Regions from separate parts of the Homo sapiens genome. Here region 2 is linked to region 1. Evidence: promoter capture Hi-C in human tissues and cell types (Jung and others, 2019). All regions are on one chromosome and are shown on one strand. Each heading gives the region's core, a stretch centred on a gene start or on the middle of the fragment in contact. The rest is flanking DNA. Distances are from core to core; before and after follow the strand shown. Region 1 holds the start of TMEM256 (transmembrane protein 256). Region 2 overlaps CHRNB1 (cholinergic receptor nicotinic beta 1 subunit).

Region 1 (4,145 bases), core at 650-3,149:
TCCTTCTCCCTATCCCTCTGCCTTCTCTCTCCATTCCTGCCCAGGCCTGACTCCCCCAGCCGGGGAGAGTTGAGGGACGGGGGCTCAGGCCGCAGGCCCCCCCTTCCTGCAGTGGTGAAAATGGCTTGGCTGGGAAGGGGAGAAGGAGGGGGAGGGGGAGATGGGAACACACGGGGTCTGTGGGCCCATTCAAAGGATCATTCATGGACTGGAGAGAGGCAGAGACAAAGAGACCAAGACGCAGAGACACGGCGAGAGCATCCCTAGGCGGAGACACGCAGACAGAGCAGGCTGGGGGAAACCAGGCGCAGGGAGGGAGATGGGGAGAGGGAGACCCCAGTGGACCGCCACGCAGCCCCCTCCACCGACCCGGCTTAGGTCCTACCTGGCTCAGCCCTGGGGCCGTGGTGCCTCCATCCAGGGCTCCGAGTGGGGGGCGAAAGGCCTTCGGGAGGGGGCGGCGGCCTCTGAGCCCCCGCGGCCCCGCAGGCCCAGCCCCCGCCCGCAGCGCCTCACCCGGCGGGGGAGGGGGATCGCCCCAGCCCCGGGGGGCGGGGCCGGGATCCAGTCGATCCCCGGGAAAAGGAGAGCTAGGGGATGGGATCAGGGGGAGCCCGAGAACAGGGAACCCCGCAGTAGGGACGATAGAGAAAGGAGGGGGCAACGGGACAGGACTAGATTGAGGATCCGCTGGTTCCGTGGGCCGGCTTCGAGGGACCAGAAGGCGGTCCAGGCGGAGGATCCTAAGGATCGGGTGCTGGAGGAGGAGTCCACGTTAATCCCCAGGGGCCCGGGGCCCGGGAGCGCAGGATCCGCGGTGCAGGGGCAGGGATCCAGCCGGAATCCTCGGGGAGGGGGAGGGATCTAGTCGATCCCGAGGGCGGGCGTGAGGGGGAGGTCCGGGGAGTCAGAGGAGGGCGGGAGCCGAGTCCAGAGCCCCGGGGCGGGGGTCAGCGCGGATCCTAGGAGGGAAGGCGGGGGTGAGGGGAGGCTTCGAGGGACGCTCAGCAGCCGGGAGGCCCGGACTCCTGGCTCCGCGCGCCAGGGCCGGCCCGCCCCGCGTCCATCCCAGCCCGAGAGTGATGATCCGCCGGCGGAGCAGCCGCAGCAGCCCCGCGCGTCACCGCGCGGCCGCCTCCCCCGCCCCCTGCCGAGAGAGCGGCGCACACCCCCCGCTCGCACCCCCCGCTCGCACCCGCCTGCCCGCCCGCCCTCCGGAGAATGGGGGGATTGGAGATGGTGGGAAGAGGCGGGAGCGGACAGACGGACAGATGGACGTAGCGGGCCAGGGCAGGGTGGAGACATTCCCCCGGATCTCCCACCCTCGGGGCTCTCGCGGTCTCGGAGGGCTGGCGGGGGGGAGAATATCTTAACTACAGGGGGCGGGGCATCATACAAAGAAGGCGGAGCCTTCAGACATGGGGGAGGGGCCATTTGTGCAGTGGGCGGGGTTTACTGGCAATAGGTGGGGCTTTGCTATCTTTCGGGCCGCCTCTTTTTGGTAGTGGGTTTGATTTGAAGCTGAACAGGAGGAGCCTGTGGAAAAAGGGGCGGAACTTTGAGAGAAGACCGGGATCTTTGGAAATTGGCCGGAGCATGGGGGTGGGGGGTTCGAAGAGGCGATCAACTTGGAAAGTGGGCCAATCCTTGACGCAAATCCCCCTAGTCCCGCCCTCAACCCCGCCCCCCCACTGCTTAGCTCCTCTGTTCCTAATTGGTGCTGGTTTCTCCGCCCGCCAGACGTCTTCGCCACTCTGCAGCGGTTTTACAAAGGCGGGTGAAGAGCGCAATGCTGAAATGAACACGGCCCGGATTGGGCGCCTGTGAACCTTATTTGCATGGGCGGTCGGGATTGGCTGGCCTCTTGGGTGGCCTGGGCGGCGTTGGTCCGGTGCGTCCTGTTCTACAGCTATGGCCGGGCCAGCTGCAGCTTTCCGCCGCTTGGGCGCCTTGTCCGGAGCTGCGGCCTTAGGCTTCGCTTCCTACGGGGCGCACGGTCAGGGGGCTGGGGACGAAGATGGGACTGTACTTGGGGCGTCCTCTGGGGTCTGCTGCAAGGGCGTAACCTATGGGAGGTGCCCGGCCTCTCGTTTATCAGACAGTCCGCGGAGCCCTAAACCTTTTAAAGTCCCCCAGCTGGGTCCAATTGGTTCCCAGTACTGCCCGAGCGTGTTCCCACCAATCGGAAGCTTCCTGGGGCGGGGGGGGGGGTGCCCTTTCTCGCCAATGTCCACCTGGGTCCCCCCGGATTGGGGGCGGTCAGGGCTGGCACTAGGACCGCTAACCTTTGCTTCTTTTCTCCACAGGCGCCCAATTCCCAGATGCCTACGGGAAGGAGGTGAAGTAACTGCGCTGGGGCTCCCTGACTCGTGGGTCTACGAAGGCACAAAGTCTGGGGTCCCTGGGGGAAGTGGGCGGGGAGAGGGTGGGGCGAGCCGCGGATCTCTGGAGCAGCAAAGGCCAAAGGCTCTGTAAGCCAAAGGCCTGGGATCAAGCTGGGACTTCAAGGGTGGGGTGGGGGAAGGAACTTTGGTCCCTTGTGTCATCAGGGGATCTCAGTACCTGTATTGCCTACGACATCCCTTCGTTTCTGTTTTTCTTACAGCTGTTTGACAAGGCCAACAAACACCACTTCTTACACAGCCTGGCCCTGTTAGGGGTGCCCCATTGCAGAAAGCCACTCTGGGTAATCTTTCCCTGCGCCTAACCCTGACCAAGCCCCACACACTCCCTCTCAGCCTGCCCTGTTCTTAACAATCCTGTTTTCTGTGCTGTGTCTCCTTCAGGCTGGGTTATTGCTAGCTTCCGGAACGACCTTATTCTGCACCAGCTTTTACTACCAGGCTCTGAGTGGAGACCCCAGCATCCAGACTTTGGCCCCTGCGGGAGGGACCCTGCTACTCTTGGGCTGGCTTGCCTTGGCTCTTTGAGCTCCCTTTTGCTTAATTACTGGGTTTTCTGGGCAGTTTTTTTTTTAAAGAGTTGGAGTAAGAAGAGGATTAAAAAGGAAAGGCAAATAAACTTTGGAGTCTTTGTTCATCTAACCTCTTGGAGGACGAAGGGTGGGGATTCAACCTCTGAACTCCCTCCATTTCCTAAGACTTAATCAGTGAGCCTTAGGTCTGGGGATTCTGGTCACTTTAAGTTAACTTATTATAATGTTCTTACCCTGGTGGGCATCAAAGTCATAAAGAATGCTTGAAATAACACAGATTCCTACTGAAGCACTCTTTCGGGCCTGAGAATCTGTATTTTAATAAGCTCATCTTGTGGTTCTGATGCATACTAGGTTTTTAATTTTATTATTATTATTATTATTATTTTGAGATGGAGTCTTGCTCTGTCGCCCAGGCTGGAATACAGTGGCGCGACCTCGGCTCACTGCAACCTCTGCCTCCCAGGTTCAAGCGATTCTCCTGCCTCGGCCTCCTGAATAGCTGGGATTACAGGCGCCTGCCACCATGCCCAACTAATTTTTTGTATTTTTAGTAGACACGGGGTTGTGCCATGTTGGCAAGGCTGGTTTTGAACTCCCGACCTCAGGTGATCCGCCTGCCTTGGCCTCCCAAAGTGCTGTGATTACAGGTATGAGCCACCACGCCCGGCCTGTTTTTATTTTTATTTTTATTTTTTTGAGACAGAGTTTCACTCTGTTGCCCAGGCTGGAGTGCAGTGGTGCGATTTTGGTTCACTGCAACCTCCACCTCCTGAGTTCAAGTGATTCTCCTGCCTCAGCCTCCCAAGTAGCTGAGATTATAGGTGCATGCCACCATGCCTGGCTAATTTTTGTATTTTTAGTAGAGATGGGGTTTCACCATATTGGCGAAGCTGGTCTTGAACTCCTGACCTCAAGCAATTCACCCGCCTCAGCCTCCCAAAGTACTGGGATTTTAAAAAATTACTATAGGGTCATGGTTTTCAGCCCTGTTGTTATCAGCACCCACTTACTCTAGAAGTGAGGATTAAGGCAAGGCAGGATAGGAGTGTCATTAGTTACAAAATACTTTGGGGTTCAAAGCAGGGACAGATCATGTATTGGGGATCAGAAAATGTGTCACAATGCTTGAGATGATCCTTAAAGGAGCTCTATTGTATGGAAGAAACAATGAACAAAGAACAAGATGGAGAGGGGAGGGGTTTGGAGA
Region 2 (4,145 bases), core at 681-3,180, 52 kb before region 1:
AAATAAAAGTAGTGAACTAGTTCAAATTTAAAACTGTGCAGGCCAAACAAAAAACACACCGTTGCAACCTCTGATACATATCGCATAGTGCTTTTTTCCCATCTCCTGTGATCCCCAGACAATCCTATAGGGCATATGCTATCATTAGTTTCATTTTACAGATGTCGAAACAAGTACAGAGCAAGCTAGTGGCTTGTGTGAGCACCAAGGTTGGAACTTGAATGAAGGCCTTCAAAACGCTTGTTTTTTCTCATTACCAATGCATGCTTGTAGAAATAACTTTTTTTAATCCCAGAGATAGTACACATTACAAAACATAATAAATTACAGAAAGGTAAAAAGAAAACGACCACAAGACCCAACATGCAAACAATAAGCACTACTTTATTTCTATTTTTATTTTTTTAGAGACAGGGTCTCACTATGTTGCCCAGGCTGGTCTCAAACTGTGGGTTTCAAGTAATCCTCCCACCTCAGCCTCCTAAGTCACTGGGATTACTGGCCTGAGCGACCATGCCCAGCTTATAAACATTATTAATTGCTGTATTTACTTCCGGAAATTTCTTTCCCCTATTCAACAAATGTTAAGCACTTACTATAGGTCAGCACCTGTGCGTGGCACTGGGCATGCTGCAGTGAACAAGACACTTTTTTTTTTTTGAGATGGAGTTTCGCTCTTGTTGCCCAGGCTGGAGTGCAATGGCGTGATCTTGACTCACTGCAACCTCTGCCTCCCGGGTTCGAGTGATTCTCCTGCCTCAGCCTCCCTAGTAGCTGGGATTACAGGCATGTACCACCACACCTGGCTAATTTTGTATTTTTAGTAGAGACAGGGTTTCTCCATGTTGGTCGGGCTGGTCTCAAACTCCCGACCTCAGGTGATCCGCCCGCCTTGGCCTCCCAAAGTGCTGGGATTACAGGCGTGAGCCACCGCGCCCGGCCAAGTCACATTTCTTGACCTCATAAGGCTTATAATCTAGTTCCTGTTCTGTGTTCTATTTCACTGGCGACCTAGGTGTTGATACCCAAAAGAGCTTCTTCAAGATCCCAAAGAGTAAATCAGATGATACTGCATTTCAGGTGGGTCCAAGACACCTGCCTACCCAGCCCTCAGTCCAATGCAGTCCCCAGAAACGAAATAAGAGGCCCAGATTCCTCGTGAAGGAGTTAAGAGGCAGAGAAGGATAGGGCTTGACAGTATCACCAAACTCTCACTTCAACTGGCAGGGGGCCTGGGTCTCAACCCTCCAGTCTTCAAGGAAAGGGGTCTGGAGGGGGCAAGTGGTACGTGGCGTCCAGGAAGATGACTAGGGTCCCAACGCTGGTGAAGATGATGAAAGTCCACAGGAAGAGGCGGTCCACTACCATGGCCACAAACTGCCAGTCCTCCTTCAGCTGTGGGTAGGCAAAGGAAACTTCCTGAGCTCTGGGCCCAGACCCCCAGGGAAACCCCCCCATTTCCCCGCCCGCTACCCGCTTGAGTCCTCCTACCACTGGTTTGAGGCAACAGCCGGCAGCGCCAACAGGAGAGCGAGACTGCAGGCAATGCATGGGCATAAAGAACCAGTAGGTAAGCAGGGGGTGGGACCAAATGAGGGAGAGGTCCAATCAGAAACGAAAGCGAGGCCGGGCGCGGTGGCTCACGCCTGTAATCCCAGCACTTTGGGAGGCCGAAGCGAGCGGATCACCTGAGGTCAGGAGTTTCAGACCAGCCTGGCCAACATGGTGAAGCCACGTCTCTACTAAAAATACAAAAATTAGCCAGGCGTGGTGGCGCGCCCCTGTCGTCCCAGCTACTCGGCAGGCTGAGGCAGGACAATCGCTTGAACCCGTAGGCGGAGGTTGCAGTGAGCCGAGATCGAGCCACTGCACTCCAGCCTGGGCGACAGAGCGAGACTCTGTCTCAAAAAAAAAAAAAAAAAAAAAAAGCCAAAAAAAAACCACACAAAAAAAACGAAAGCGAGTGCTGGTGCGGAATTTGGGGGTGGGGCCAAGGTCGCCTAGACCTGGCCTTGTTCCACCCCCGTTGGACATACCGCATCGTGGTCCTCCTGTTCCTGCAGCTGTCGAGCGATGTAGCTGATAGAGGAGACGACCTCCCGTAGCTCCGGAAGCAGGGCCACAGCCCGGTTTGGACCATCGATAAATCGCCGCAGATCAGGGGCAGACAGTTCAGGCTGGAACCTGGAAGAGGAGTGACTGGCCACGCCCAAACGCAAAGACAGCCAGTGCCGGCGACCCAGGCCCCGCTCCAGCTGCCTCCAACAACTTGCCAGTTCTCAAAACCCGAGAGCCCATCATGCTTTTCCCTCCAGCAGTGATCTCTCTAGCCTTGTGCAACTTCTTCCACCGCCTCTGTTTTAGTTCCCACCTCCCCTCAAAGTGAGCAGCAGGAGTACTACAACTCCCATGATGCTCAACCACAGCGTCTTCCGAGAGCATGGGCCGCTTCTTCCGCACACTCTTCTGGGAACTGTAGTTCTCCCTCTCCCTCTTATGTGGGTAACGGGCGTAGTCCTACCTATTGGGTTTGGGGAAGAGAAAATCACTTGGCGGCTTCCGGATGAAATATTCATCTGTTCCCCGACCCCAGCCACTTCCTGGAGAAGAACAGTGAGGGGGCTCCGGCATCAGGTCTCTCTCGGGTTTGGGCCTTTTTAGACGCAGGTACAGCGGAAGTTTGTGAATGAAGATCTGCAGAGTAGAAGAGGCGTATTGGTGGGGGCTTTCATGCTTTCAGACCAGAAGGGAAACAGCCAACCACCCCACTCCACATGCCCATTCCCGCGCGTGAGTATGTGCGTGCATATTCTTCCACAAACGAGCTACACAAGGAAATGCAGCCACACAGACCTAAGAGCTCTTTAGTGGGTTGGGCCTGTCGCGGTGGCTCACGCCTGTAATCGCAGCACTTTGGGAAGCCAAGGCAGGTGGATCACCTGAGGTCAGGAGTTCAAGACCAGCCTGGCCAACATGGTGAAACCCTCTCTCTACTAAAAATACAAAAATTAGCTGGGCGTGGTGGCGGGTGCCTGTAATCCCAGCTACTTGGGAGGCTCAGGCAGGAGAATCGCTGGAACCTGGGAGGTGAAGGTTGCAGTGAGCTGAGATTGTGCCATTGCACTCCAGCCTGGCCACAAGAACAAAACTCCATCTCAAAAAAAAAAAAAAAAAAAAAAAAAAGCTATTTAGTGGGTTGGGAGGTATCCCAACTGGAAAGAGAGGGCTTCCAATCTGATAGTACCTAACCCTAAGAATATTTCCCTGGGACCCGAGATGGGCAGTATTGATGAAGAGAGTATGGGATCTGTGAAATGATAATGATGGGGGCTAGCTTAACTGTGCAACATTTCAACACTCAACAAGCTTGGACACTTCAACACTCTGCCACATAGCTATAGTTCTCCCTATGGTCTGTAAAAGGAAAATTGGGGTTGGAGGAGGAGATCTTTCTTACCTGACGGACCCAAAGGGGCATTTGGTGGGTGTGGGGTGAGCGGTGGTGCAGGTTGAGAACCACGACACTAAGGATGACTGAGAAGGTGACGAGGACCATGGTAAACATGAGGTACTTGATAATAATGGGTACTGATAGTGAGGTCTCAGGTACTTTGTCAGCCAGCAGCAGCAGGAACACAGTAAGGGTCAGCAGGGCAAAGATTGAGAGCCCCATCTTCTCTCCTTGGAGGGCAGAGGGGAAGAGAGAAGGATTAGACTTGCCTGAAGGAAAGCTCTATGGCATAATCAGTGACCATGTTTCCAGGCCATTCAAAGACAGATTTCTACAGCCAGGCACAGTGGTTCACACCTGTAGTCCTGGCACTTTGGGAGGCCAAGGTGGGAGGATTGCTTGAGCCCAGGAGTTTCAGACCAGCCTGAGCAACATAGGGAGACCTCTTTTCTACAAAAACAAATTTGAGGCTGGGTCTTGCTCTGTCACCCAGGCTGGAGTGCAGTGGCATGATAATGGCTCATTGAAACCTCCACTTCCCAGGCTCAAGTGGTCTTCCCACCTCGGCCTCCTGAGTAGCTGGGACTACAGGTGCACGCCACCATGCCCAGCTAATTTTTGTACTTTTTGTAGAGACAGGATTTCACCATGTTACCCAGGCTGGTCTCAAACTCCTGAGCTCAAGTGATCCACC

Evidence for each region. Contacts are between HindIII fragments. The study calls those that stand out against the background at their distance.
Region 2: a contact is called between a fragment that was not itself captured here and the fragment with the promoter of TMEM256 in region 1, in 1 of the 25 tissues and cell types used here (dorsolateral prefrontal cortex).

Annotation. Positions count from the first base shown.
Region 1 is chr17:7,401,851-7,405,995 of GRCh38, reverse strand. It overlaps TMEM256 (transmembrane protein 256), which reads left to right and starts at 1,899. Exons shown (of 4, transcript NM_152766.5): 1 at 1,899-1,996; 2 at 2,307-2,338; 3 at 2,606-2,686; 4 at 2,787-3,021. The coding sequence starts at 1,912. The coding sequence ends at 2,930. TMEM256-PLSCR3 (TMEM256-PLSCR3 readthrough (NMD candidate)) reads left to right here and starts at 1,865. Exons shown (of 10, transcript NR_037719.1): 1 at 1,865-1,996; 2 at 2,307-2,338. It also overlaps a transcript of NLGN2 not described here. RefSeq lists a silencer at 1,091-1,420 and an enhancer at 1,911-2,090. The HindIII fragment of the contact is 13,166 bases long and covers 1-4,145 here.
Region 2 is chr17:7,453,833-7,457,977 of GRCh38, reverse strand. CHRNB1 (cholinergic receptor nicotinic beta 1 subunit) reads right to left here. Exons shown (of 11, transcript NM_000747.3): 8 at 3,458-3,681; 9 at 2,522-2,694; 10 at 2,037-2,184; 11 at 268-1,395. The coding sequence ends at 1,255. Among named protein-coding and RNA genes, the nearest start is that of CHRNB1, 11 kb to the right of the region's middle. RefSeq lists enhancers at 1,939-2,098, 2,179-2,258, 1,786-2,287. The HindIII fragment of the contact is 4,047 bases long and covers 1-3,953 here.